Linked DNA regions of Homo sapiens: regions 2, 3, 4, 5, 6 and 7 are each linked to region 1. Evidence: promoter capture Hi-C in 16 types of primary human blood cells and fetal thymus (Javierre and others, 2016). All regions are on one chromosome and are shown on one strand. Each heading gives the region's core, a stretch centred on a gene start or on the middle of the fragment in contact. The rest is flanking DNA. Distances are from core to core; before and after follow the strand shown.

What was found. The method cuts DNA at HindIII sites, captures the fragments that hold promoters and counts their contacts. A CHiCAGO score of 5 or more calls a contact.
Region 2: a fragment that was not itself captured here is called in contact with the fragment with the promoter of RGS2 in region 1 in 1 of 17 cell types (naive B cells); the score reaches 5.2 in naive B cells.
Region 3: a fragment that was not itself captured here is called in contact with the fragment with the promoter of RGS2 in region 1 in 1 of 17 cell types (naive B cells); the score reaches 5.2 in naive B cells.
Region 4: a fragment that was not itself captured here is called in contact with the fragment with the promoter of RGS2 in region 1 in 1 of 17 cell types (monocytes); the score reaches 5.9 in monocytes.
Region 5: a contact is called between a fragment that was not itself captured here and the fragment with the promoter of RGS2 in region 1, in 16 of 17 cell types (naive B cells, M1 macrophages, M2 macrophages and 13 more). The highest score is 17.5, in naive B cells.
Region 6: a contact is called between a fragment that was not itself captured here and the fragment with the promoter of RGS2 in region 1, in 3 of 17 cell types (total CD8 T cells, non-activated CD4 T cells and monocytes). The highest score is 6.4, in total CD8 T cells.
Region 7: a fragment that was not itself captured here is called in contact with the fragment with the promoter of RGS2 in region 1 in 1 of 17 cell types (total B cells); the score reaches 5.8 in total B cells.

Annotation. Positions count from the first base shown.
Region 1 is chr1:192,806,810-192,811,056 of GRCh38, forward strand. RGS2 (regulator of G protein signaling 2) reads left to right here and starts at 2,230. Exons shown (of 5, transcript NM_002923.4): 1 at 2,230-2,372; 2 at 3,357-3,458; 3 at 3,561-3,622; 4 at 4,172-4,247. The coding sequence starts at 2,263. RefSeq lists silencers at 681-770, 1,707-1,916, 3,424-3,483 and an enhancer at 2,247-2,466. The HindIII fragment of the contact is 4,593 bases long and covers 1-3,446 here.
Region 2 is chr1:193,188,421-193,192,667 of GRCh38, forward strand. All of the region lies in intron 10 of CDC73 (cell division cycle 73), which reads left to right. Among named protein-coding and RNA genes, the nearest start is that of B3GALT2, 3.9 kb to the left of the region's middle. The HindIII fragment of the contact is 730 bases long and covers 2,015-2,744 here.
Region 3 is chr1:192,458,463-192,462,709 of GRCh38, forward strand. No RefSeq gene overlaps it. Among named protein-coding and RNA genes, the nearest start is that of RGS1, 120 kb to the right of the region's middle. The HindIII fragment of the contact is 2,290 bases long and covers 1,236-3,525 here.
Region 4 is chr1:193,153,391-193,157,637 of GRCh38, forward strand. The region is part of intron 10 of CDC73 (cell division cycle 73); the gene reads left to right. Among named protein-coding and RNA genes, the nearest start is that of MIR1278, 19 kb to the left of the region's middle. The HindIII fragment of the contact is 1,169 bases long and covers 1,325-2,493 here.
Region 5 is chr1:192,475,702-192,479,948 of GRCh38, forward strand. No RefSeq gene overlaps it. Among named protein-coding and RNA genes, the nearest start is that of RGS1, 98 kb to the right of the region's middle. The HindIII fragment of the contact is 4,574 bases long and covers 183-4,247 here.
Region 6 is chr1:193,136,091-193,140,337 of GRCh38, forward strand. CDC73 (cell division cycle 73) reads left to right here. Exons shown (of 17, transcript NM_024529.5): 6 at 1,995-2,083. It overlaps MIR1278 (microRNA 1278), which reads left to right and starts at 413; the gene lies at 413-493. The HindIII fragment of the contact is 281 bases long and covers 1,504-1,784 here.
Region 7 is chr1:192,492,415-192,496,661 of GRCh38, forward strand. No RefSeq gene overlaps it. Among named protein-coding and RNA genes, the nearest start is that of RGS1, 81 kb to the right of the region's middle. The HindIII fragment of the contact is 777 bases long and covers 1,794-2,570 here.

The DNA of each region.
Region 1 (4,247 bases), core at 980-3,479:
AAAGTGCTGGGATTTCCAGCATGAACCACAATACCCAGCCTGAAAAGTTTAAATGTTAATCAGTTTCCTTATTTTTCCTACGTATTATCCAGTGAGCATTTATTAAATATCTATAATGAGCTTAATCTTCTACAAATTTGTGTATCTTGTGTATTTGTGTACCTACAAATTGAAACATCTTGATATTTAATAGTACCTACATATTTATAACCTAATTACGTCTGAGTTAATCCTCGTACGATTTTTTCCATCTTGAACAGCTATGATTTGAACATTTCCTTTTGCCACACATATGCAAATCAGTAATAAACTTCCGTACAGTACTTTAGAGCTTAGAAAAGACCTTTCATGTAAGAGTCACATAATATCCTATGAGGCTGGCAAGAAAATACATGTTACTCTTATTACAGATGAGAAACTGGGACTCAAAGAGGTGTGAAGCTAGTGTCCCAACAGTTACTTAGCATTTACTGGATAAGCCCAGGCTCTAACTGGGTCTCCTGACAGAAGTCCAGCTCTCTCTCTCTGCTGCCTCTTTGTCAGAACTCCTGGCCTGCCAGCGAATTTAACTGTCTATGAGTAAATTCTAACATCTAAGGTTCTAAGTATAAAATATATTGAGGTTTACAGTGGTGAGAAAAAGCAAGTGTCTGCGTATTACAGACAGCTGATAAATACGTATTGAGTCATCAGAAAGTGAAAATAGATGTAGGACTATTATGCAAAGCATAGGAGAGGAAGAGCATATGCTTAAGAAAAAATGGCATTCCTAGAGTTAACAAGCATGTTTCAAAGTATCTATTACTGAAATCTACACGATTTTCCTTTCCACAATAAAGTCCACAACTGTTGTCTTAAATAATAACTGCAGGTTTTGCCCTCCAAGTCAAACTTGGAGCTCCAACTACTGGCAGCTCACCGTAAGAATATATTAATTATTTCCAATTTCCTTTTAAGAAGTCGAATACAAAGTAGAGAGAATATCTGCAGCTTGGTTGCAAAGCCGCTTAAACATTTCACTGGCTAGTTCTGGTAATATTATCCGAAATCAACTCATTTTGTGGTTGAGGTAATCTATTTGTCTTTACCAATCAAGTCGTTTTAAAACCTTCAGGAGTAGAGATGATACTTGAAGAATTAACAAATAAAACTTAATCAAGGAAACTGTTAACTCATTCTCCCCCCTACTTTTTGCCAGTTATTAAATGTTCTGGTAAATCCTAACTCAACAAGAATGACTCATGAGGAAATCCTGACTCCTTGAACTCACTGATTCTGGTGCATTACAGCTATGAAATCTCTATGTCTGCAGCTTTCTCTCCCACCATAAGGAAATCTGTGATTTCTATTTTGGCAGGAGATGTGACCAAGGACTCCTGAGGAATGACCCTATAGACAGACCCAGCCACGTGCCTAGTAGTGATCAAAAATGCAAACCCAATTAAAGCACTGTCTTCTGATAAAGTCACTTTCTCTTGTTCAATCCCTAATGTTCATTCTCAAAGTGTTCCAAGACGCCCCAGCAAGCTGCAGAGCAGATCCCACCCTGCCCCTGGGCAATCAACGTTTCAGGTTACTCCTTCCTTAAGTTAAGTGGCAGAGAGAAACGGGCGAGGGTCTCCCCATTGCCTCAGTTCACAGACCAGGGGGTGTCGAATGAGTCCTACAGCAGGACAGCAAACAAGAAATGAGGCGCGGGGTCAGGGAACGCGCTCAAAAAAGGAAGAAAAATCCCACTCTTCATTCGAAATCAGGCCACTGCACTCCGGCCTCGTGGCGGGCGACCTCCTCCTGCCAGGGAATCGCCGCTCTGGCCTCGGGCTGGGGAGCCCGTCAGGGTGGGTGAGGGAGCGCCGGCGCCCCCGCCGGGCCGCCGCCAACTTCGGCTCCCTCCCTCCGTCGCAAAGCCCTCGAGCCCGCCCGGCCGCCACGCTTCAGCAAAAGGTCGTGCGCAGCGGCCCACACTGAAGACTCTCCATCTGCTCCCACACCTGCCCCAGCTGGCCGCTGCTATGTGGCCCGAGTGCGCAAGAAGCCGGGGCCGCAGACGTCAGCAGCGCCCCGGCTTCGAGACCCTTCGGCAGCAGCCGTGACTGCCGCCGGCGGGCGCTGACCCATCCCCGTGCCAGTCTGCAGCCGACCAATCCGCGTCCTCTTGAGGCGGGGCCGGAGCCGCGAGGCCCCGCCCCCAAGCCGAGGCCTCATAAATGCTGCGACGCACGCCCAGCCGCAAACAGCCGGGGCTCCAGCGGGAGAACGATAATGCAAAGTGCTATGTTCTTGGCTGTTCAACACGACTGCAGACCCATGGACAAGAGCGCAGGCAGTGGCCACAAGAGCGAGGAGAAGCGAGAAAAGATGAAACGGACCCTGTGAGTATGGCTTTCTTCCCTCTCCCGCCACCCCCTGCCCCACACTGCAAGCTGCAAACGCGGTACTTTCGGGCTCGCCTTTGACGTTAGGAAACTAGCCTGAGCCTATGCAGGGAAAAAAAATCGAAAAGGTCAATTTGTTAAGTAAGGTTAAATCTGGGTGATGCTCGGGTACAGTTTAAGAACCGAGGGAGACAGTTGATATGAGGGCGGTGGTTGATGCGCTAAGAAATTGCGGGTTGGCTTTTTGTCCTCCTGCATTCAAAATGACATCAGAATCCTGCGGCTGAAGCGCGTCCCCAGCATTCATACGTTGCATGATGAGTTCTCATCAGCTTACACAGCTACTGGAAGGTGATGCTCTTGCTGGTTCTGAATATACTCGTTTAAAATCCATTTTTGTTTTTTAATTATAGAGCAGATCTCACCCAGTCCGAATGTGGAACAAATAATTGTTATGCAGCGTCTGCTTAAAAGAAGTGTCGTAGGTGGGGAAGGAAGAGCGCAGGGGAATCAGTCACCCACCTCTTTGTACAGTCTCTGGCGTGGTCCAGAACCTCCTGCTCTAAAGAGAGAAGCGTGGGCCGGCTCCAGACAGTTCCATGTCTGTCCTTTTCATTAAAGTGCAAAACGTCTCGGAATTGTAATTAACCTTGCAAACAAACTGATGCCCTTTGTGAGCCAGAAATAGTGTCTGCCTTTTGAACTAAATTCATTAACAATTCTTTAAAATACCCTAGTGATTATAGGTAGCCCTGCCCTTAGTTGTAAAACTAGTAGATACGGTCAGATTAATGGACGAAACTGCTCAGTACATGAGGTTTAAATGTTAGGTGGATAAGACTTATTTGAAGAGTTCTTGCTTTGCCTTATGCGGTTTGTCTCTAGTTACTGGGTGACTTTATTTGGTAAAAATGCGTTCAGCTGCAGTAGCATATTCAAGTGTTGCTAGTTAGTAATTATCTTTTTAATTTTTTGTTTTAGTTTAAAAGATTGGAAGACCCGTTTGAGCTACTTCTTACAAAATTCCTCTACTCCTGGGAAGCCCAAAACCGGCAAAAAAAGCAAACAGCAAGCTTTCATCAAGTAAGTTGAGAATCCTGTGCTTGCAAATATCAATAGTTAGCTGCTGAACTGAAAAGGGGAACTCTGATGTGCGTAAGCTAACATACAGAACCTCTCTTGCAGGCCTTCTCCTGAGGAAGCACAGCTGTGGTCAGAAGCATTTGACGAGCTGCTAGCCAGCAAATGTAAGTTAACTCTTGAGCTTGAGCCATTGCTAACATCGCAAAAGCCTGGAAAGGCTGCGTCCACCTAACAAAAGAGCAGCTTGCCTGAGGGGGATTAGACTGCAGTCACTATAGGATAAAGCCTGTTTTTCTTTCCTTTATTTCCCAGGGTTTAACAAATAAATGCATATATTCTCTCCAGGTGGGGAAGAAAATCAGCCTAAACAAATTAAAGTGGCAGTTGCTTATAGTTAAGGTTGAGTCAGTTTTTCCATTGCATACAATGTTTTCAAGAGGCTTAGTTCCCAGAGAATTTATGGCTCCCCTATAAATATTTACTTTGCATTGACAGCAAAGTACTTATATTTTTGCAGCAGAGTGCCAACATAAGCCTTTTGCCTACTGGTATCTTAGTCTTTAAAAAGCTAAATTTTGAGAATTACAGGTTTGAGCGAAATCTAGAAAATTCATTTAGAAATAATTAAAATGTGAGGGATAGGAGAAACATAAGGAATCATTTGGTCTCTCAGTTCTTCACATTCTGCATGCTCTCTTTTCTCCCCCCTTCAGATGGTCTTGCTGCATTCAGGGCTTTTTTAAAGTCGGAATTCTGTGAAGAAAATATTGAATTCTGGCTGGCCTGTGA
Region 2 (4,247 bases), core at 1,130-3,629, 380 kb after region 1:
GGCACTGCTAGAGAAATTGTGGGATTTTTTTTTTTTCTGAACACTGGCGCAGCATACCCAGGAATCATTAATAGAATAATAAATGAATGTTTATATTTTCACTTTTTCAACAGGTACATATTGATTAACTACTGTGTACCAACATGTGCATTTAGGCATAGCTTATTAAGTATAGGGGATACAAAGTTGATTTAGAGACATTCCCTACCCCTTTCTCCAGGAAAGGACTAAATAATTATTATTCTTTTGCCAGTTCTTTTGATTGGATTTTTTTAATGTCTCCCTGGATTATTATAGATTTTGATTATTAAGAGAGTTATATGGGTAACGTATTCATTAGTGGGTCCCTCCAGTATCGGATTGAGTCCCTGAATTTCCAGTGGGACCCCCCCGCCCCGAACTGCTTGTTATGGGACAAGTATTTAAACAGCAAGAAACTTCCAAATATTACTAACAAAAGGTGCCTATGTACTTAACTGGAATTTACTTCATACTTTAAAAGTACAGCTGCAACCTCTTTCTTTCTGTCTGTCTGTTTTTTTTTTTTTTTGGAGACAGAGTTTTGCTCTATTGCCCAGGCTGGGGTACAGTGGCACGATCTTGTCTCACTGCAACCTCTGCTTCCCAGGTTCAAGAGATTCTCGTGCTTCAGCCTGCCGAGTACCTGGGATTACAGGCGTGTGCCACCACACCCGGCTAATTGTTGTATTTTTACTAGAAGTGAGGTTTTACTATGTTGCCCAGGCCAGTCTCAAACTCCTGACCTCAGGTGATCCACCTGCCTTGGCCTCCCAAAGTGCTAGGATTACAGACGTGAGCCACAGTGCCCAGCCAACCTGTTTGTTAAATTTAAGTTAAGCTAGTTAAGAACTTTACGTAAAGTTCAGGAAAACAGGGCAGATGTGAGATAAAAGTTCCTTTAGTAACTTTTTGTAGCAACCTACATGTTTCCAGTCAAGAGAAACTGTAAAAATCTTATGACAGGAGAGCTTGTAGAAGTTCTTCCTTTAGTCTAGTTTCTTTTAACATCTGAATTCTATGGTTAAACTAATTCAGTAAATGTGACAGGTTTCTTTTTCAGATTCAGCAAACTGGCAGCTATTTTGTTAAGTTTTATAGTTATAAATGGCTTGTAATTGTCACTTGCATAAGTCTATTTTTAATCCTACAACACATCCGTGATGGCAAAATAGGTGGCCGTTACTATGTGCATCATGGCCAGAGCTGTCCAGGCCGGTTTTAGCATTTTCCTGGGCATGTCTAGTATAGACTTCAAGGAGTCAGAATTTAAAGACAGGAATTGTAATGCCTCCTAATTGTCAGTTTTTACTGGGTATAGGAATAATTATTTTTGTATTCATGTAGTTAATGGTTTTGAATGATTATTACATGTTGAATCAGATGTAAATCTGCTGTTCAAGTGGCTACTAAATAGTAACTCATGGAGTTACATCATCTGTTTATCTATGTATGTACATTCAACAATATGTCCTTGGTAAAAAGATTAAAAGAGAAAGGTAGGGGGAGAGCACTTCAACCAGGGTGGATGATTTTCATCTAATGGGAATGAGCAAAATCCTTGAGTAACATTAGAAGGGAGACATGAATCTGGTCTTCTTATATTGGTCTCCTTTCCTGTTTGTGCTTTATTATGAGTGGTTGGTCCCTGAATTCAAGGAATTAATTTCAGCTAGGACTTACCAGAAATACCAGCTATTTTTTCCCATGTTGGACAAAAATCTTAATGTTTTAGATCAGGTATAATTTCCACCATACCACTCTGAAAACTGTCACTTGACACAATTATTTAGAGACCAATTTTAGTTTTATTGAGATGACTAGACAATTTTGCATGATGTTTGCTTGGAGTTTATTTCTCTTGACTGTTTTTATTTATAATCAGATGCAGTCTTTTTCATTACATAAGGGATTTGGACAAATGGCTTGTTTTTGGTTATTTAATATTAGTATAGGTAGTTTCCCCTTTTTGAAGAGAAGTCAAATGTTTATTAAAAGCTTGTAATTTTCCTCTAAAGTCAGTGGATGATTTATGAACCAGCTTTACTTTCCTTGAACTCACAAAGCAAGAATTAGCCTGATTGCAAATAAGCAATCTCAGAATGACCACAAGTGTCAGTGTTTGCCTGCCTTATTTTTCTCCTTCAGTTTTCTTGTGCAGCAGATAGGCATGTTGTTTAAGAATTTCTTTTGACTTGAAAACAAAGCTAAATTTAAGTGTCTCTTTCAGAACTAATTATAGACACCTTTATCTGTTTTAATTCATGCAAACTATTAACAATGAGCATTTACAATCAGCAGTGATTTGGCAAATACTTTATTATGCTTGTGTATTCCTTGGTTTTTCTGAGGCACAGCTGTTTCAGTCAGGAATAATACTCTTAGAGCTGTGGTTCTCAAGGGGGCAGTGGTAGGGGTAGTACTGATTTCTACGAGGTGTTCTAGAAGTTTGTGAGGATGTTTCTAGTTAACAGAATGATTTTTAAGGGCATTTTAGGGCCAGGGTAGGTAGTAGTCCAGTAGTGTGTGGGACAGTCTTTGTAAACAGCAAAGACTAGCTCTGTGTTCTGCAGGACTTCTGAGTGTTTCATTGGCTATCTGTGTAGGTGAAACACTTTTTTATAATTAAGTAAATTTAAAACATTGTTGGAACATAAAGTATATTTTGTTCAGTTTTAACGTGCACTGAATTATCTAGAAATGTAACTACAGTGTACAGTGAGGGAAGCTTGTACTTTGCTTTGTTCTAAACTTGGCCAATGGTTCACCATATCAAAAAATGAAATTGTGTTCATGGCATTTGAGTCACCAATATACCAGTCTATGGGCATTTGTAATTGTTACATTCACTATGACTTTATGTATAGGTATTAGCATCTGGTTAGTATATCTTCTGGTATAATCATGTCTGAGACTTACATACTGAAATGCATATTTTTATCATAAATCTCTCTTTTTGTTTGTTTTTTGAGACAGTCTCGCTCTGTTGCCCAGGCTGGAGTGCAGTGGCGTGATCTTGGCTCACTGCAACTTCCACCTCCCAGTTTCAAGTGATTCTCCTTCGTCAGCCACCCGAGTAGCTGGGATTACAGGCGTGTGCCACCACACTTGGCTAATTTTTGTATTTTTAGTAGAGTCGCGGTTTCGTCATGTTGCAGGCTGGTCTCAAACTCCTAACCTCAAGTGATCTGCCCACCTCGTCCTCCCAAAGTGCGGGGGATTATAGGCCTGAGCCACCACACCTGGCCTCTATCATTAATGTCTTTAAAAATTTTATTTGTATTAGTGTATTAATTTTTAAAATATATATGTAGATTGGTTGTATTACCTGTGCATTTCATTTCAGGTAGTTAAGAGGGGTCATTGTAAAGTATTTCTTATATAAATACTTGTTCCATGTAAAGTAAATATAAAGGGCATGTGTTGAATTTGATAGAACTGTGACATCCACTGGGTCAGCACCTTTGAATAAATTATTTCAGGCAGCTTACTCTCCATTCTCTGCAAACCCAGCATATTCTTGATATTTAAAATTATTAACACTATTAATTTATTTAAAGTATAACAAACAATTTGTAAATTCAAGTATATGTAAAATATCGAAACTTAAAATTCTACTAAAACTTTGCAAAGAGGCATAGTTACCCTAATATAAATTATTAGTATCAGAAAGTATTTATTTTAATGGCTGTAGTAGATACGAATAGAAAGCAAGTGTTGGGAGCCAAGCATGGTAGCTCATGCCTGTAATTCCAGCACTTTGGGAGGCCGAGATGAGCGAATCACCTGAGATTGTGAGTTCAAGACCAGCCTGGCTGACATGGCAAAACCCCATCTCTACTAAAAATACAAAAATCAGCCAGACGTGGTGGTACATGCCTGTAATCCCAGCTACCTGGGAGGCTGAGGCACGAGAATCACTTGGACCTGGGAGGCGGAAATTGCAGTGAGCCGAGATCGCGCCACTGCACTCCAGCCTGGGCGACAGAGTGAGACACTGTCTCATAAAAGACAAAACAAGAAAGCAAGTGTTGGAAGTAAGTAAATAGAATTTTTTTTTCCTAAAGGGCTTTTTTGAAGAAAGAAGGGAACATTGAACATGCTTGATTCATGTAGCCATCTTCAGTATGATTGGTTATGGCCCGATTAGAAATAGGGACTTCAGTGTAAAGGAACTTTGCGAAGTGCCGGGGTCTGACCTACAGAACCAGGCTGCACGATGGATGAAT
Region 3 (4,247 bases), core at 1,131-3,630, 350 kb before region 1:
CATCTTTCAAGATAGAACTCAGAGAGTATCATCTACTTTCTGCTGCTCCATAATTTATATTCTTCAAGGAAGAGGATTAGCAGGGAAGACATAATATTCAACTATTTCTGTCACTAGTAGACATTTTCAATTACCAAAATAAGTTTGCTCAGTAAACTATTTATTTGATTGCGATTAAGAACACAAAAATTAATTTGTGTTGGATTAACTTTCAAGGAGTTCGAAAAAAGAACTGAACACTAAAATCCAATGGTATCTGTTTATGGGGAATCATCCTTTGAACACTTCAGCTTAGCAGTTCTCAAAATGTGATCTGCAGACCCCTGGGAGTCCCCCAAGACAATTTCAGGGGGTCAGCAAACTCAGAGCCATTTTAACAATAAGATTATTTGTTGTTTTCACTGTGTTGAGATTTACACTGAATGTGCAAAACAATGATGAGTCCAACAGCTGACATTTTAAGATGAATCAATGCAGTGGTACCAACTGTATAGTGGTTTGATATTAATCTCTTTATTATTTTCCTCACTGCCAATACATCCACTTTCACTTAAGAATGTCCTTGGCCGGGCGTGGTGGCTCATACCTGTAATCCCAGCACTTTGGGAGGCCAAGGCAGGCAGATCACCTGAGGTCAGGAGTTCGAGACCAGCCTGGCCAATATGGCGAAACCTTGTCTCTGCTAAAAATACAAAAAAATTAGCCAGGCGTGGTGGCAGGCACCTGCAATCCCAGCTACTCGGGAGGCTGAGGTAGGCAAATCGCTTGAACCCGCGAGGTGGAGGTTGCAGTGAACCGAGATCTCACCATTGCACTCCAGCCTGGGCAACAAGAGCGAAACTCTGCCAAAAAATAAAAATAAAACAATAAATTTTAAAAAAAGTCCTTGGTGAAACAGCAAAAAGTATTAGTGTTATTAAATCTGGACCCTTGAGTACTTATCTTTTCAACATTCTGTGTGATAAAATGGAAAGTACACATAAAGCCCTGCTGTTGCATACTGAAGTATGATTGTTGTGAGAAAAAAAAAAATTGTGCAATTAGGTTATGAGCTGAACTAGCTGCTATTTTGTGAAACAATTTTTACTGAAAAGAAAAACTTGTAGATAAATGTGGTTATTCAGACTTGGATATTTGGCAGACATTTCCTCAAAAATGAACAAAATGAGCCTGTCACTTAAGGAAAACAACTGACAGTATTTATTGCCAATAGCACAATTTAAGCTTCAAGTGAAAGCTTCCATTAGCTTGACAGCTTTCCAACACTTAAAGAGTTGCCTGATGAATTTTGGTAGTGATATTAATGAATGAAATTTTTGATATTGTGTAATGAAGTTCATCAACATTTGGAAGACCTGTATAACTCAGCATAACAATATTCTCTAAGTGTTCAATGCATCATATTACAGAATCAACATTCACATCACACAATAGACCAGTGGATTTTAATGTCATGAGAAGTTTATTGAGATAGTTTTAGATTCTACATTACAATTAACCTTGAAGAAACTACTATAGCCAGGTTTGGATGTAGTTCCAAAGAAGACTATTCACAGCTATCTTTAAAAGCTATTAAAATATTCCTCCATTTTAAACTACATACATGTATGCAAGACTGGAGTTTCTTCATTTACTTCAAACAGAGCAACATATCAAAAAAGATTGGATGTAGAAGCAGTTACAATAATCCAGCAGTCCTCTATTAGACCCAATATTAAGGAGATTTGCAAAAATGTAAAACACTGCTTTTCTTCTCACTAAACTTTTATTTGAAAAATATAGTCACTTCATTAAAATATATTATTTAAGCTAGTGTGTAATGGGATTATTATTGGTTTTTAAATAAATTAATATAAATTTTTTAAACATTAATTTCTATTATTGTAAATATAAATACATAAATTGTTTTGATGTCTTTAGTAGAGTTTCAGAGCATAAAGGGGTTCCTAAAACCAAAAGTTTTGATAATTTCTGATTTTGTTGAGCAAAATTTACCTTTAACCATGATTTCTATTATATCCATAAATAAATTTATTTAATTTTAAATGTTATAGTACCACTAATTTACAATTTATGCCAGTCAAAAAAAATCTGGCCCTCACGTTTTATTGCAAAAGAGTTGAAACACATCTCATTGTAATAAAATTAAAAATCTATGGACCCCTCTCTTTTTCCGCCATTTTGTCAAAACTGCAAAACAAGTCTTGCGGAAGTAGGCCTAAGGGACTTTTGCACCGATATTGTACTGGCAACCCACCACGTACACCAATTTTTATTGTCATGGCCCAAACTGAAAAACAGGTTTTTTGACTTTTTTCCTCCTCAGAGAGAGTTTTTTTCTTTTGTTTTCTGGAAGCACAGCTTAGGAGCCTGAGATGATAATTTTTGCACGTATTTTTCTCCTTCCTTTGGGAACCTTAACCATATAGAGACCTTAACACAAACCCTGATGCTCCCTTCATATTTATCCAGAATAGCCCAAGCAAAGCCTGAAAATAGGGTATCAACAATAAAAATCAGAAATTTGATTCACAGATCAACACTTATATAACTGGCCGAGGTGTTGGCAATAATTCTCAATTCACATAACACATATTTGTTTAATAAAAAAGAGACGATGTTTGTTAGAAATACTTTAAAAGGTACCTAATCAGATATTTTTACCAAAACAGATGTTTCAGATGACAGAATATAGAAGTATAAATCCGAGGTGGGATGGGTGGGTATAAAGAGGAGTTCTGAGAGTGAAGTAAAATCTAAGCTGTTACAGTCTAAGAAGTGGACAAGAGGACTTCCTAGCCCATGATTCATATGTCTGCCTCCTGGGTACAGGTAAGTCTTATTGAGATCAAATAGAATATTCAAGAAGAATGGCTTGAGCCCTTGCTGTGCATCCTATAGCAATTGTACCACTGTCCTCCAATAAATTCCTGCACATTCTCAAGGGTGGGGTTGAGGGGTTAGGGCTGGAGTGGGGCTGATTTTCTGTCAGTTCACTTCACAGCTTGGTTTCCTGCTGCTGTCCAGCTCACCCAACCACAGTTCCCATTTGGCCCACCATGTCCCTTCATACTGGATTTCATCTTTCTGTGACAGAGGCACATTGTCACCTTTCAAATTCACATTCTTAACTTATCTTTCAAAATAATAGAGTCCTAATTTTGACCTTCACAAATTGCAGTCAGCTGAAAGTCTATGTTTTCCAATTTTCTTTATCTCTACGTACTGGCCAGTAAGATGTGTGTAAAGTTCTGCATAAATGAAAGTGTTCTGTGGAACTTCCAGAAAGCCTCATTAGGAAAGAAAAAATATGTTCTTCATCCATTTCTCTGTACTATCCCCTGAAATACAGATGAGAAGTTCTGTGGGAGTGACTACATGGGGAGCCACAAGGATGACAGCTTCGCCCTCAGGGTGGCAGAGTGGAGATCTAGAAGGAGCATGGGTTCCTGATGACTGACCATGGAGTCACCATACCTGCTATGGACTGCTTTTCCCTGGAATTCTTTATGTGAGAAACAAATAAGCTTCCCATCATATTTAAGCCACGTTCTTTCAAGCTTTCTGCCATACAGAGCTGCATCTGGTCATAACCAAAACGACATCTTTTTTTTAATTCCACAAATTATAAGAAACACAAGCCTATTTTAAATTTAAAAAAAATGTTCAGTGGAAACTTGATGGCAACAGATGGGGAAGTATTGAATAGGAAGGAAATACTGCAAATTCAATAGAGGTCATCGCTGTTTCTAGATATTTGTTATCACTTCTCTGCCACAGACATGTTCATCATTGTCTAGATGTGTCCGTAAGTCTTTTCCTTCTGACATGCTCTTAAGGAGCTCCTCCTCTCTATTTTGACTTTTCTTTTTAATGCTATCTTCTCATTTACTCATGGTAACTCCAAATACCTCTAACTTTATATTGTCTGTCTTCTTGCCAGCTACTCCATCCAAACTACATCCTTAGCCTTACATTTCTCAAGCAAAAATGATATCAAATCCTACCCCGTGCTTTTATTAACAAAAGAACCATCTACCCCAGAGATAAACTAAGCAATTCCATTAGGAGGAAACAGCCACAATCTTTTTTTTAATAGCATTTTTCTTCATACTCTATTATTACTTAATTAAGAAGCAGCAAAAATACAACAGTGAAAATTTAATGAAATCAGAAATTCCCCCACAGGTTTTAGCAGAATTTCTGGGTATCATAAAAAATACCTAGAAAAGCGTGAGCCCAGATTC
Region 4 (4,247 bases), core at 659-3,158, 350 kb after region 1:
TACTTTTAAAATACTATGCATGTGTATTAAATAGAGTATACTTAAGACACTAATACCAAACTTTTGTCTTTGCTTGTGAATCATCAGATCTTTACGGACTCTATATAACATGGAATCATTATATATGTGCTGTGGTTTCTCAGAATTAACATATAACTTTATATCTACGTGGGCTTTTACGTGTTTTACTCACTCATTTCCAAAAGCAAATAGCAAGTATAGAGATCTGATTTTAAGTTTGTTTTTTTCTGGACTTCAAATTGGGATTGGATATCAGATATTTTGTTAATATACTTGTTTTTAAATTGTCATCAGATTTGTTTTTGTATTATTAAATTATGTGTAGATTAATGAATTCATTCAACAAGTACTTATTGAGCATTTGTGTCAGATCCTGTTCTTGTTGCTGGTCATACAGCTGTGAATAAGACAGATGAGCCTTGTTTAGAGAGAGAAGTCAGAGATACTTCTCTCAGGAGGTAACAGTTGAGCAGAGAGACTTGGATAGCATTCCTCTACGTCAAGGCAGGGATCAAGACTGAGGTCCAGTAGAGCAACAGCAAGGAGGCCAGTGTTGCTAGAGTTTGGAGAACTAAGGGAAAAGTCATCAGGGATTAGATACTCCCATCTTATGCGATCTGCCTGGTTCTTCCTGACTTCAATATATAATTCATGGCTGAAGATTTAGTTTAAATTCTTATGTGATTTGGTTATTGACATCTTGGGAACAGAACTTGCCTACTAATCATTTCCCTAAGTGCGACAGAACTTGCCCGCTGATCATTCCCTGAGTGAATTAGTCGTAGAATGAAGTTGTTACCCTTGGGGAGCCATCAAAGTAAGTTTTTTGTTATTTTTGTGATTGTTGTTTTTACTTTTCTCATCCATCCCTGTACCTCTGAAATGCCATGAAATGGTTTTATTATCTGAGCTTCTTTGCAAGTAGTAAAATCTGTGATGGGTTTTACAGTGATGCTTTGTACAGAGCAGTTTTTCTAAAATTTAAGGATAGCTTCTTTATTGATCAGTATGAGAATGATGTGATTCTGCGGCATCATCAGAGACTGTTCTAAATATACTGAAAGAGGTGAATTTAAGCAATATACTGAAGTATACTGAAAAGAGAGGTGAACTTAAGCAAATTTATGCTGTGTGATTTTTAAAGAATAGTCATGAAAAAGGCATTGTGTAGGAATGCAACAGAAAGACTAAAAATGGTTAAATTGCTGATAGTTATATTAATACCCAGTTTGAATCTCTGTGTTGCTTGTGATCTGATTTATGCAGTTGTTAGAATTAATACATAGAGAAATTTGAACTTGAAAGCTTTGAAGTTCTCAGATAATTATTTTTTAGTTGTGTCTCAGACTTACGTTTTCAATTTAATATTTTTTTCTCTTCTTTTCTGCTTTGGAATTACTACCTATTTGTGAGCTTGTGAGTTGCACCAACTTTCTACCTTATTCTCCAGTCAAGAAAGTTTCTCCTTTATAATATCCACCCAGACATACAGTGATGTTAAATGTATGTTAAAAGGCTTTGCTGCCCAGATGTAACTTCCTTCCTAATTTATGTATAGTTCATTTTTGCAGCCATTGTTCTCCAAGGTTTTGATATGCCTGGTTGATGTACATAGTTAATAAAATTAGGATCAGTCTATGTATCTTTTAAGTTAAACATCAGATTTCTGTTATATGCAAGACTAAATTATGCAGACGGCTAGAATATTTTTATACAGATAATTTCCTATATATATATGTTGTAGAGAAGGATATGTTTTGATAATCACATTTCATAAGAATCATGGGTTAGTGAAAGTTTTTATAGAAGTAAAGGCCCCAGGGAGAGTGCTTTGATAATATTTTATGAAAGTAAGAATTATTCAAACTTATAGCAACAGAAACCCAGGTATCTTTAAAGTTACAAGTTTGTATAGTTGGGTTTCTGGTTAACTTTTGACTTAGGCCATGAAATACGTTTCACAGTAAAGATTCCAGAGGCCCAAGCCATGAAATTGTTGATTTGATAGATAACTTTTCCAAGTTTGGAGCTTTTCCCCCAAATTTGTTGCTTGGGTTCTATAATGTTTAAGAAACACTAGGTTAGGCCAGGCGCAGTGGCTCATGCCTGTAATCCCAGCACTTTGAGAGGCCAAGGTGGGCAGATCACTTGAAGCCAGGAGTTCAAGACCAGCTCGGTTAACATGGCAAAACCCCATCTACTAAAAATACAAAAATTAGCCAGGATGTGATGACGTGTGCATGTAATCCCAGCTACTCCCGAGGCTGAGGCAGGAGAATTGTTTGAACCCAGGAGGAGGAGGCTGCAGTGAGCCAGGATTATGCCACTGCACTCCAGTCTGGGTGACAGAGTGAGACTCTGTCTCAAAAACAAACAAAAAACCCCACTAGATTAAACAGATTTTGTGGTTCAGGAATCTCATTGTTTTTAATGTATGAGTATCTAAATTGGAAGAATATTCAGTCTTTCTCAAGCTTATTTAACCCCCTGAGTTTGCCCCTACCCTAACACCTAGGGAATATTCTTTGAAAGGACTAGTGTTTCATAGAATCAGGTTAAGTAAAGCTATCTCAGAATTATGTGTTAGAAGTAGAAACCATTCAGTGGGGGAAATAACAATATATTTTCATGGTTTCATTTTGTGATAGGGTCATATTAGACAAAGAATGTCACTTGATAAAGTTTATTGTATAGTAAATAAGAGGATATAATGAAGGTCTGTTTTTGTTAGTTTGCAAGGAACCAATTTATGGTTCCACTGGAGAAATAATCAGATGGTGATCACAGTTCACTCTTATTAGTGAGGATTTGGTAGTTGCCTTGAGAACAACTTCATTTTAACCTGTCTAGCCTGTTCATATTTAACTGGAAGGGTTACAGACTCTAACCTCTATTTGTTCTTAGTGAGTATCATTGACTCTTGATTACCTTTACTGTCTTCATTTTTGCGGAAGCATCTCACACCCTGCAATTATAGAGATTAAAAGCTTTCCTTTAAGATCTTTGCTTGAATTTATTCCAACAGTCATCATAGTTCTTACACTAAGTGTGTTTTGGGGAACGATTTTTTTTGACAGTAAGTAAACTTAGGTAGCTTTATATAATTTGTTAGAGGTGTGATAATATCACCATCAATTCTCAGGAGGATCCAGAATCTCAGTCTGTCAACCAGGTTAGATTCTTAAAAGCAGGAACACATACATAGCACTCTCCCCACCCCACCACTGTTTTATAAAGCTTCCTTCATTCCCATTTGGTTATTGATTAATTTGTTGTTCATCTCTGCTTGAAGTGTTACGGGAGTGCTATAGTAGCAGTAATGTTCTGGAGTTGAGTGTAGAGTTCAGCTCTGCAGATAATGGAGACTCTCTTAAAAGCTGTTTTCCTTGGGGTTCTATTTCCTTTTCTTCCTCTTTCCTTTAGCAAATATTTGTTGAGTGCATGCTGTGTGCCTGGCAGTGTGCTGAGTGCTGGGACATCAAAGATGAACAAAACCAGACGTGTTCATACGGACTTTATGATCTGATTGGGGAGGGACACATTAGTCACACTATAAAATTGTGACTATGACAAGTGTTAAAGGTACGTTGTGCAACAAGAGCCTAAAATTGGGGGATTTGTTGCAGGAGTCAGAATACTTCATTTAGGAGGTAATTCTTGAATAAGATCAGAAGTTTATGTAGGATTTAACTTGGTGATGATGACAGGAAAACACATTTTAGGAGCAGTGAACAAAAAGCAGTAGTAAAAGCCCTGTGATGGGGAGAGAGTGGGGAGTAGAAAGATTTGAAAGAAGACTGGTTATTGTATATATTTTAAGGATGCTTGTAGGAAAGTTTGTTTTTCTTCTTCCTGCCTGTTCGTAAATGTTAGTGGATTATTACATTACATTGCACTAACGTTTATGAACAGTCAGGAAGAAGAAGATGGTAAGGTAGATCATATGTCTCTTTTAGCATGCTTCTGATGGAGTCATTCATTGTGCCAATCTAAATGTGGCCACAGATATGTTTTATTAGGCATCCATTATAATTTAAGTTTTTATCTTATTCACCACCATTTAAAAATTAGAGCTTGTCACATAAACAGTCTGGATTTCCAGCTTCCTTAAAATCTATCTGGCATGACTGCGTACTGGGTCTGTAGTCTCACATGGCAACAGCCACATCCACCTGAGCAGGAGCTACCTCCTTTAGATAAGAGGTTTTCTCTAGATTGCCACAGGC
Region 5 (4,247 bases), core at 1,220-3,719, 330 kb before region 1:
CAGCAAACTGCCACGGTTTGGCCTTTTCCCCTCGGAAGCCCCTCTCTCTCTCACTAGAAAAAGAACTGTTCTTTCTTTCTTCCGTCTATTAAACCTTCGCTCCTAAAATCCTCATGTGTGTCTATGTCCCAAATTTTCTTGGTGTGAGACAATGAACTGCTGGTATTTACCCCAGATAACGAAGCTTCAGTTTCAAGATGGAAAATGTTGTGAACAATTGCATCTCAGAAAAGGCAAGAACCAGGGCACCTCTGGGAATCTCTGCAGGCATCGTGGCATTTCCTTAAAGCATATGACTGCCCCAAGGACTGCCATCTAAATTTTTCTATCTGACTACCTTCAGTTCTGAGGCTTCCTCTGTCAAGGTTCTCATTCCCAAGGTAAGAAGTCAGACGGCCTGATGAGGATCCGGTATCCTTCTGAAGTGGAAGGACAGTGTCTGGTGAGCAGGTGTCATGGAGGGCCAGTGGCATGTGCCTGTTGGGAGGGGTGCTATGTGAGTCAAGCTGCACAGACAAGAATAGCATCTACTGTTTTGGCATCTTTCCTTACCACTACATGATGTTTCTCTGCTCTGAGGAGATCACACACCTTGATTTCTCCAAGTATGCTGGCTACAGTCACATTCCAGTGCCAGCAATGCCATTAGCTCCCTTTTTCAGGCCAAATCACATGTATTAGAGAATATATTTATTATTCCCGCAAGAATATGAGATGCAGGAGGGCTGTACATTGATTCTGCATATTTTTATCCCAAGCCTAGGAGGACAGCTCACTCAGGAGACAACTGGAGAGCAGCACCTTCAATTCACTTTTCTTGGAATCTAGGTTGTATCCTGATAAGAAGCATGTGAAAAAAAAAAATGTGTGTGTGCGTGTTGGTTGGGGTTGAGGGAGAGATGTTCAACACTAACATAGAATTAATGAATTAATGATAACATAGTGTCATATTGAGATAGTGAGATGTGCTGCACTTTGGAATAAGAGAGACATAGGTTCCTATCCTGTTTATTTAGCAGATTATTTAACTTGCCGGTGCATCTATTTCTTCCTCTATGAAATGGAGAAACAATCCTATGAATCTCTATGAGGACTAAATTGGATAACGCGTTATGCTGGGTGTGGTTGACTGGCTCCCAGCAGCCAACCCCACCCGTTTCCATGTTCCTTTTTTGTACATAGGAGCTGAGGAGATAAACGCTACATTTAGCAGACTCCTTGGCAGCAAGGGCTCTGGGTGTGAATTGTGTCTGCCAACCAGAGGGAGAAGTTGGACGCGAACGCTTGGCTGTTCCTGCTGGCTAGCAACGTGGTAGGAACAGGTTTCTGTGCAACGGAGTTTGCATGCGTATTTCAGACTTTTCAGTGTTTTGAGATTTGTGACATCACTGCAGTAATGACCTCAGAGCGGGCACTCCTAATGAGTCAGTTGCACATTGTTTTGGCAGTCATCCCACAATATCCACTCAAAAACCGACTTCTCTGGCCCTCCCACTGATTGTCAGGATCTCACTTGCAGTATTAACCCACTTCTGTTTTCAGTCTCTAGAGTGGTTTGTTTCCTATTCTGAGCAATGACTAATATAGACATACAAAGTGCTTAACAGAGCACCTTTCTGTGGCACTAAAAAATGCTTGATAAATATAGCTATTAATATTATTATTATTATCTGGTATTTGACCTTAATCAAGTTGCTTAACCGCACTAAGCCTGAATTTTCTTATCTATAAAACAGGGACTTCTTAAGGAACTGCTGTACAGATAAAATAACATAATGTATGAAAAGAGCTTAGCACAGAGAGTAGGTGCCCAGTAAATTTTGTGTATAATTATATATTCCTTTTATTCATTTTCATTTTTTCAACATATAAATTATTTTATTAGTCGTTTAGCTTAATCCACACATAGTATAACACTATAACAGCATCAAACTGTTGTATGCCAATGTCTATGTTATTGACATGTAGTAGATTTCTAAATGATTTAGAAATGTGTTATACAAGAAGCCAGGTTAAACTTAAATAATGAGAGTTTCTGCAAAACTAATCGACTGACTCTTACCTCTGGTAATTTTTCCTTAGACTTTATTCTGCAATCACTAGAGGGCAGACAAATACAGTGAATAATCAGTACCAGCTAAAGCAGTAAATTCTTAATGAGCTTTCTGAATATGGGTAGAAACCGTTATTTTTCAAACATGAAAATAGAAGAACAAAGATACTTACTATGTAAGGACACAAATATCAGTTAAAAGTTTATAAGTTTATTTTAACTTCATTGTTATATAAAATTAGTAAGCACAATTTTCTACCTCATACTTATGTAAATTTTAAAGTAAAATCATTCAACAACACATACATTAATTTTTAAAATTAACAAGATAATTAAATGATATATATTCATTAGAACAGAGAGAGAAGGTAGCATAGTAAGAGGATCATGAATCTGGGAATACAAAGACCCAAACTCCAAATGGGTCATTTTACCTATTAGTTGTTGTAGGCACAGTGCTTTGGGCCGACAAACTTTCAAGATGCTAGAAAAATGTTTGAAACTTGTAAAATAATTGATTCCAGACTTTGAAATGAAGACTTTTTATTTACACACACACACATGCACATATATGGACACAACCTAACGAGCAATATTCCCAAAACAGTAAGAACATGTTGGAATCTTGATTGAATGGTAATAAATGATTTTCATAGAACTGCCCTCTTTACAATATTGGGTCTTACAACCTATGAATGTAGTACGTCCTTCTGTTTCTTTGTTTATTTGAGTCTTATTTTAATTCTTTTAAATGATATTTTACACTTTTCTATGCAGAGTTCTTGAACATATTTAGAGTTAGGTGTGTAAATATTTTTATACTATTTTAAATAATATCCTAATTTTAATTTCTAACTCTGTTACTGTTACATATAAATACAATTTCTGTACATGGCTGAAGTTATCTAACTTGCTAAATTCTTTTATTAATTGATATTAACTATGTGTAGAATCTCTTGAATTTTCCATATATATGATCCTCTGTTCTGCAAATAATATCAATTTTCTTACTTTGCTATATTTTTATTTTTATTTCTTCTTCCTACTGCATTGCTACATATCCTCCAGTATATGAAGAATTAAATTAATGACAGTAGTCTCCTAGCCTTTTTATTGAAACAGATGGAGAACTTATTTATAATTATACATAATATTTGTTAAAGGTTTTATCAATTTTATTAATATTTTAAATTTAGCAACTTTGATGATGCCTTTGTTTATGTGTTTGTTCTACTCCTTTTTTTCTGCCATGTTGTTTTTGTTTCTATTATAGCCTTTGGATTGAATTTGCTCTTTTTTTTCCTACATTCAACACCATGAAATGGAGGTTTAGTTGATTGATTTTTAGACTTTCCTGTAAAATATAGACATATAGGATTTTCAATTTAAATTTCTCTTTGAACTCATCTTTAATACAGTCCCACAAATTCTACATGTTGTACTTTTATTATGTATTTCATGATATTCCTAATTTTCATTGTGATTTCTTCTCTCATAGTTTTTATATAAACACATTTTTTAATTTTCAAGTATACAGGCTGTTTCCAGTTTGGTTTTCTTTTTTGTGGTCTGGTTTACTTTATTTTTACTGTGGTCAGAGAACACACTGTTATTTTAAATGCACTGAAATTTATAGATGGTTTATGTGTGATAGAGGGATATGAATTTTGCAGTTTCAAAGTTTGTATTACCATTAGGGGAAGCTGCTTTGAAATCTTCCCATATCACTGTGTATTTAATTATTTCTCAATCTAGTTCTGCTCATTTTTATACATATATATGTCATATAGTTTGTCCATTCCAAATTAGAATTTATATTGCCACTTGCTAAACTAAACTTCTTGTAATTATGAAGTAGTCTACTTAATCTCTAGTGATATGTATTGCCTTATAGTCTATTTTGTCTGATATTAATGTGTTTATACAGCATATCTTGATAAATATAACCTTGTTTTGTAGAAGTTGTTGGTGAAGCAGGACAGATCAGTTATATAATTGGTACACATAAGTATAAAAACTGAGTTGAAAATAATAAATTATAATTATTCCACCTGAAGTCCCAGCATCTTCATTCTGAAATTAAATTATTTAGTAATTTTTCAATATTATATAGATTAAAATCATCCTTCTATATCCTTAGACTGTGCCTTTTCTAGTCTTCCATATCTCTTCTCTTCCTTGGTGTGTAATGTTT
Region 6 (4,247 bases), core at 394-2,893, 330 kb after region 1:
ATTCTTTCTTTATGAAAGGCCAGATAGTAAATATTTTAGGCCTTATGGGCCATACAGTTTATGTTGCAACTATTTTACTTTAATATTGTAGTGTGAAAGCACTCATAGACAATACATAAATGAACAGATGTGGCTATGTTTCTATAAAAAACTTCAGAAAACAGATGGCGGGCCAGAATTGGTCTTTGGGATGTAGTTTGCCTACCTTTGGAACAATGTGTTATGGGTGCTTGCTTTACTGCTCAGAGCTGTGAACATGAAGTACTTACTACTTTAATGTAATCTTAATTAAGGATATTCTGAGAAATGGATCTGATATTTTTAAGAGATAATGATGATAATTGATTCATTGTTATTGCTCTATGCTATGTGTTATTCTAAGTACTTTATATGTATTAACTCATGTAATCGTATTTGCTCATAGATGATATGCATAGTACTCCCAGAACTCATTAAGTTGGTAGTACTGTGCATATCATCTATGAGCGAATAGGCTCAGACAGAGTGAGTTCCTGAGGTTTGAAGAACCAGTTGGAACCTTGGCAGTCTGGTTTCTAGCCATTCTGCTATACTGGGTATAAATTTTGTGGCAGTAAAACTGAATATTTCCCCTTATATGAAAGGAGATTGTGACCTGTGGTAAACAATGTGTATGAATTTAGGGATACCATTTATTTGATCTCAAATTCCTGGCCTCAAGCATTCTGCCCACCTCGGCCTCCCGAAGTGCTGGGATTACTGCCATGAGCCACTGCGCCCAGCTCAAGGGATGCCATTTATTTGAAACAATCTGAACATCACAGTCTAATTATTTGAAAAAATTCAACATGGCAGAAGTCCTAGTTTCCTGGGATTCCAGTAACTTAAAAAATCAGCAGGAAATGGCATAATACATTTTTTTCCAAATCATTTGTGGGGTTGAAATGTGTTACATAAACAGCTATGGTTTTCAACATTGGTTTTCAGTTCAGTGTATGTCTTTTGAGGATCTATAAGGAACTGTGCTAGGAAAGAGAAACTGAGGGTAGAGTTTCTGATTTGATAAAAATCTAGGCTGCAGTTATCTTTAAAATCAGTAGTAAGGAATTTGAGAAATCTGGGCTATATCTTTATTGCAAATGGAAAAAGTTGGATGCATTTGCCAAAATATTTTTGCATTTATTTCAGCTGATTTATTCATTTTAAGATTTTTACATGATAGATTAATAATAGGACATGAATTGGAGCCCAACATCTTTTTGGATCTCTAGAGTATGCTGATGCTTTTTATACAGTTTTGTATTTCATTAGTCATAGTCATTGACTCTGGTCCTCAGTTTTGTTATTTGTTGAATGTGGACATTAAACTGGATCAGGGTTACCAGATTTTGTTTTGTTTTTAACCAACAGCTTTTCAGACTAAATTTTACTTGACATCATAATATGTGAATTAGATAAAAGCTGAGCTACCAGGGTTGAATTTCAGACAAAATCTTGAAGTGGCCCATGAGGCGTTTAGTTGGAAGCTTCTAACGTTCTAATGACCATCCTTTGAAAACCTTTAAGGTTTTCCTTAGAGCATTTTGATTAGTGCTAATGGATTCAGGACCTGTAGCAACAGATGAAAAAAAAATGGAGATACCAAAATGAAATTGTTGACTCTGGTGAAGGCTTGTCATAACATTTGGTTATTAACTTTCTCAAAAAGATGAATTTATTTGTTGTGTCTTTCTGAAGAAAGTCAGCTATGATATGGGAAGAGCACTTAATCATAAAGAAAAAAGTAGCTAAGCAAGTTTTTCCTAAGCTTTTCGATGATTCCAGTCTTAAGATTCAACATATATTTATTGTTATTATCTTTACGTAGCCAAAAGTAGTCTTGAAGTTGGCCTAAAGACACTGATACCTAGAATTGTAGAGGTAGGAAATTTGGTAAGGAAAAGTTACATGTAGCGTTTTTTCTTCCTAAAAGTTCAATAAAAATTTTAAATGCATTAACCAGTGGTTATTTCCAGGATGAAGAGTGTGTGCGCCTTGATAAAGAGAGATTGGCTGCCCGTTTGGAGGGTCACAAAGAAGGGATTGTACAGACTGAACAGATTAGGTAAGAATTCTTTTTAAGTAGAAAGTAGGTAGTTTAGATATATGTAAAAGTATAAGGAAAAGGAATATTAAAATGCTCTCCACATTTACATTTACCTCTTGGATTCATTTTATGCCTCTTTGCTCTTAAGTTCGTAAGAACATGTGTGGGGATTGGAAGTCATTGTGTTTATCATGCTTTTTGAAAAGTCTTCTTGTTTCTATTACCATGTTGGTCTTTCTTTTTAAAAATTGCGTTATAAGCTGAGAAATTCATTTTATGTTACCTCTTATTGATTACTTACACCAGAAGTCAGCAAGCTTTTTCTGGAAAGTGCCACATGTTAAATATTTTTAGCTTTGAAGGTAATATGGTCTCTTGAAACTACTGAACTTTTGTGGTGTGGGGAAAGCAGCCATAGACAATACATGAATGGATGGGCATAGTTTCTTCACTTTTTAAAAATGTTTTCATTTTTCTGGATTCCAGCTACTCAAACTCTACTTGAAGTTGTTTGACAGCTCACTTACATTCTTTTCTTTTTTTTGGATTCTTTTCTATCTGTCTGTTTATATTCTTTTTTGAATTATTTTTGGATAGTTTCTGTTGTACTGAACTTTAATTTTTTTTTTTTTTTTTGGAGACGGAGTTTCACTTTTTCACCCAGGCTAGAGTGCAGTGGTGCGATCTTGGCTCACTGCAACCTCTGTCTTCTGGTTTCAAGCGATTCTCCTGCCTCAGCTTCCCGAGTAGCTGGGATTACAGGCGCCTGCCACCACGCCGGGCTAATTTTTATACTTTTAGTAGAGATGATGTTTTCACCATGTTGGCCAGGCTGGTCTCAAACTCCTGAACTCGTGATCTGTCCGCCTTGGCCTCCCAAAGTGCTGGGATTACAGGCGTGAGCCACCGCGCCTGGCTGAACTTTAGTATTTTTTTCTTTGACAGTTCACTTACATTCTTCTCTTTTTTTGAATTAACTTTATATCTGTTAAATTCTTTCTTGAGTCCTTTTTGGATAGTTTCTGTTGTGTTTTCAACTTTACTTAATTTTTTTTATGTAATTCCATGCATGTTTAGTCTCCAGCATTGTAGTTTTCATCTGAAGTTTGTTTTGCTCTTTTTTTTTTTGAGACGGAGTTTCGCTCTTGTGACCCAGGCTGGAGTGCAGTGGCGTGATCTCGGCTCACTGCAACCTCTGCCTCCCGGGTTCAAGTGATTCTCCTGCCTCAGCCTCCCGAGTAGCTGGGATTACAGGTGCATGCCACCACGCCCAGCTAATTTTTGCATGTTTTGCTCTTTTTTAAAAAACATACCTACTTCATCTTTTCATTTAGCTTGTTGAAATATAGAACGTAGTTCTTGTAATTATTTTCATGCCTTGAGATTGATTGATATTTCTCCTCGTTCTGCTTTATTACATGTCTGCTTTATTACATTTTCCTGCTTTATTACATATCATGTGATCTTTGCACACCAAACATCATATATACTTTTTACCTTGTTGAGGGCTAGATATTGTTATATCTCCCCACATCATCTTTAGCTTTTTTTTGGGACACAGTTAAATCCCTTGGAAACAGTTTGTTACTTTTGGGTCTTGATTTTAATTTATCTGAACATTGGTCAGCTAGGGTAATTATTCCCCACCCACTGAGGGAAGACCATTCTGAGTACCTAATACTTCATGAACGTGAGGTTTCATTCTGGCTAGTGGAACAGGCACTATTCTTCACTTTGTGTGAACACTAGGCATTATTCTGTCTAATTCACTTGGGTGGTTCTTTATTCAACCTTACATAGTTTCTTCATATTTGTGCTAGTCAGAATTCTGCTGGGGTACGTGAGGGGGATCTTCTGTGCAGTTCTCAGGTCTTCTGACCTATGAATTCTAAACACCTTGGTCTTGCTGTAGTCTCAGCTCCATTTCTTCTTATCAGAGAATCCGCTCAGCTCTACATGGGTTCTCCTCCCAAGGCCATGTCTTGGAAACTTACAGGCAATAAGCTGAGGCAGTCATAGGGCTTACCTTGTTTGTTTCTCATTTGTTAGGGAATTACTGTCCTTCATTGCTTGATATCTAGCATCTAGTAAACCATTGTTTTATGTATTTTGACTGGTTATTTAAAGGCTGGAGGGTTAGTCTAGTCTCTGGTACTTCATCTTGGCTGTAAGTAAAAATTCT
Region 7 (4,247 bases), core at 932-3,431, 310 kb before region 1:
GTTCCCAAGGGCACTCCCTAGTCAGTATCCTGGATGCTAACCTCCATGACAGTTTGCTTCCCAAGAAATCTAACCTGTTGCAAGCAGTTATTGTCATGTGTGGTTTAAGAAAGCAAAACCTAAAATAAGGTTTTAGAGCTGAATTAACCTGCTCCAGAGCTGGCAATGAGGAGCCTACCGCTGATGGCAGGTGGAGCACAAATAGCCTCTGGCACAAGATACCAATGCAAATGGTAATATTTTCACTAGGTTGGTGCACTGCTGAAGAGAAATGCATTAGCTAGTGCAATGTGTCAAATTGTGAAACATGGGGGAGTAGTAATTATAAGGAGACTTGAGTGAGCTCAAGTAACACTCTGGGAAGAAAGATGAAAACTAAGAGTGATTAATTTACAAATAAAAGTTAAGTGTAAAAGTCATAGGTCACCTTGGTCAGAGAGAGAGAGAGACTGGAGGAAGAGGAGTCATGTCTTTTCTCCTAAGGTGGGAAGGCAGACTGTACAGAAAAAGCTGATGACGAGGCCTATAAAAGTAGCAAAACTCCAAAAAAGGTTAAACTTCCAACCAAGGCAGGTCTGCAACACCAACATCAGGTTTCTGTCTGGGAAAAAAGTATGATCTTGACACATGAGGTAGGGAGAGCTAGGTTGGTGTATCTGAACATCTTGAACTCTCTTCCAAAAAATATTGATCCCAAAAGCAATGCTTACTAAATGCCCTCCACTTATCTCCATCTCAATGTCTGCCTTTCAGGAAAATCAATCTGCCATAGTAACCAAATACCTAATGAAAATCTTCTCCATGGAAGAATTCTAGCTAATAAATGTAAAAAGATTATAGAATTAGTAAATCACCATTGGCAAACTGTAATGAAATTATCTGGCCTCTCATCACTATATAACAAGCAACACATTAACCTACTGATCAATCTTAACATCACTAAAAGTGAAACTCAATAATATGCCCCCTACATGCCCCTGATGCAATGAAAGATGCTATGTATAGCACCACCTATAAAGTATTTTTTCCAAAGTTGAATCTGAATCTAATCAAGTCTATCAATTGTCAACTTACAGGAAATATGGGTGATAGAGATACAACCACCATACCTAGAGGTAGAAAAATAATAAACTAGTATCTTCAACAAATATATGACATTATTTTAAAAAGCCATTTAGAGACATATTAACTAAATACAATATGTGGTCTGTGTTTGGATCTTGATTCAAAAAACTGTAAAAAGACATGTTTTTAGATAAAAGAAGAAAATAGAACATTGGGCCACTTATTGGATGATGTGACATTATTTGTAAAATGTTGTTATTCGTGATGAAATACTGCTAAGCTAAGCCTTTTTTATAATTATCTATTAAAGATGTATATTGTAATATTTATATGTGAAATTATGCAATATCTGTTATGTGGTTTATAATAATCTAGAGAAAACTCATATATAAGATAGGGTATAGACAAATAAGAATGGGAAAATGTTGATAATTGTTGAGCTGGGTGATGGGTAGATAGGAATTCATTATATTGTCAACTTTAGTACACATTTAAAATGTTCCAAAATAAGTTTCTAATAATTATTTACATCTTTAATGTTACTCTACATATAATACCAAATCAAAAGATTGAGTTAAGAGTTTATGAGGTAATTAAGTTTAAGAAATATTAGAATTTTAGGAAAATCTCTTCAGGGCATTAGCCTATGCAAAGAATTTATGACAAAGACCCCAAAAACAAATGCAAGAAAAACAAAAATAGATACATGGGACTTAACTAAACTAAAAAGCTTCTGGATAGCAAAAGAAATAACCAACAAAATAAATAGACTACCTATAGAGCGGGGGAAAATATTTGCAAATTATGTCCCTGGCAAAGGACTAATATCCAGAATTCACAAGGAACTGAAATAACTCAAGAAAAAAGGAAACCACCCCATTAAAAACTGGGCAAGGGACATGAACAGACATTTCGCAAAAGAAAAAATACAAATGGCCAACAAACTCATGAAAAAATGCTCAATATCACTAATCACCCGAGAAATGCAAATTAAAAACACATTAAAATATCATCTTACATCAGTCAGAATGGCTTCTATTAAAAAGTCAAAAAACAAAAGATGGTGTAGATGCGGGGATAAGGGAATGCTTATATACTGTTGGTGGGAATATAAATTAGTTCAACCTCTATAGAAAATAGTATGGAGGCCAGGCTCGGTGGCTCATGCCTATAATCCCAGCACTTTGGGGGGCTGAGGTGGGTGGATCACTTGAAATCAGGCATTTGAGACGAGCCTGGCCAATGTGGTGAAACCCCATCTCTACTAATATTTTAAAAAATAGCCAGGCATGGTGGTGCATGCCTGTAATCCCAGCTACTAGGGAACCTGAAGCAGGAGAATCACTGGAACCTGGGGGCCAGAGGTTGCAGCGAGCCAAGATCCCACCAGGTCTCAAACTCCTGGTCTCAAGTGATCCTCCCATCTTGGCCTCCCAAAGTTTGGGATTACAGGCATCGACCACCACACCCAGTCTTGTAGCTTAAATAAAAATATAAAAAGTGAAAGCTTAAAGGAAAAAATATATATGTGCTAAGCAAAGGGTGAGCACATGAAATTCGGTGTGGCTATATTAATATCAGATAAGAAATGCAAGCAAGGAAGGAGATAGATATTAAAAGAGATATTTGGTAATGATAAAAGGGACTATGCATCATGAAGATTTAACAATCATAAATGCATATGGATCTAATGACAGAATTCAAAATACGTGAAACAAAAATCATGGAAATAGAGGTAATAATAGACCAACAACTATAGTTGGGGATTATAAAATCTTTTTGTGCATAAAAGAACAAGTAGAGTTTTAAAACTAAGTATCAACATAGACAGTCTAAACCATACTCTCAACTAACTTGATTTAACTGACATTTATAAAACACTTTCTTTTCAAGTGCACATGGAACTTTCATCAAGAGAGACCATGTGAAATACTATAAAATACATTTCAGGAAATCCTAAAAACTTAAGACTTATAGAATGTTTTTTTGAGCACAATGGAATTAAACTATAAATCAGTAACAGTAAGTCTAAAAAAGCCTCCAAATATTTAAAAATGAAACAACAATCCTATAACAGAGATTATAAATAAATCATGCAGAAATTAGAAAATATTTTAGACCTGATAATAAAAAATATAATATGTTGAAATTTATGGGATTCAGCTAAAAACGTACTTAGGAGAAATGTTTAGCTTTAAATGGATATCAGAATTTTTTAAAAATTTTAAATCAATTATTTAACCTTTCATCTAAATAAGCTAGGAAAAAAGACCCTATTAAAACCAAAGTAGAAGAAAGGAAATAATAAAAATTAAATCAGACCAATTAAATAGAAAACTAACAATAATTAGAGTCAAAAAGTGGTTCTTTGAAAACATTGATAAAATTGATTGATCTCTCTCAAGATTGACCATGAAAAAGACAGAAAATACAAGTTTTCAATAGCAGTAAAAAAAGGAGGAAATAGACATATATTGGCAGTAAACAGTATTATTTCTGTGTAGAGATCTTTCATATTTTGTGTTAGATTTATTGGTAGATATTTGATTTTTTCCATGCTATTATAGATAGTAGTACTGTTTATAATAAAATGTAATAAAATACTGTTTATAATAAAATAAAAAATCAAATATCTATTAATAAATCTAACAAGAATAGAAAAGATCTCTATACTGAAAATAATACCTAGCTGAGAAAAAATAAAGACCTAAATAAATAGATATTTTATATATGTAACATAGAAAATGTCTTATTGTTAATACATTTTTTCTACCCTAATTAACCTGTTCAACACAATCCCAATCAAAATCTCTGTATGCTTTTTAGAAGAAATTATGAAAGTGATTATAAAATTTATATGAAGTGCAAAGGATCTAGACTAGTCTGATTGATCTTAAAACACAAGAATAAAGTTGGGGACTTATACTACTCCATTTCAAAACTTAATAAAAAGGTACTGTGATCATGACAGTTTAATATTGGCATAAGAACAAAGTTTAATATTGGCATAAGAACAAATAGTTCTTAATACAAAGGTACTGTGATCATGACAGATTAATATGGGCATAAGAACAAATAGTCCTCCAGCTACTGGACAAATATTTGAAAAATATTAAACTTTGATTTCTATCACAATCACATTCAGTACAAATGTTTGTATATTAAGATGAATCATAGACCTA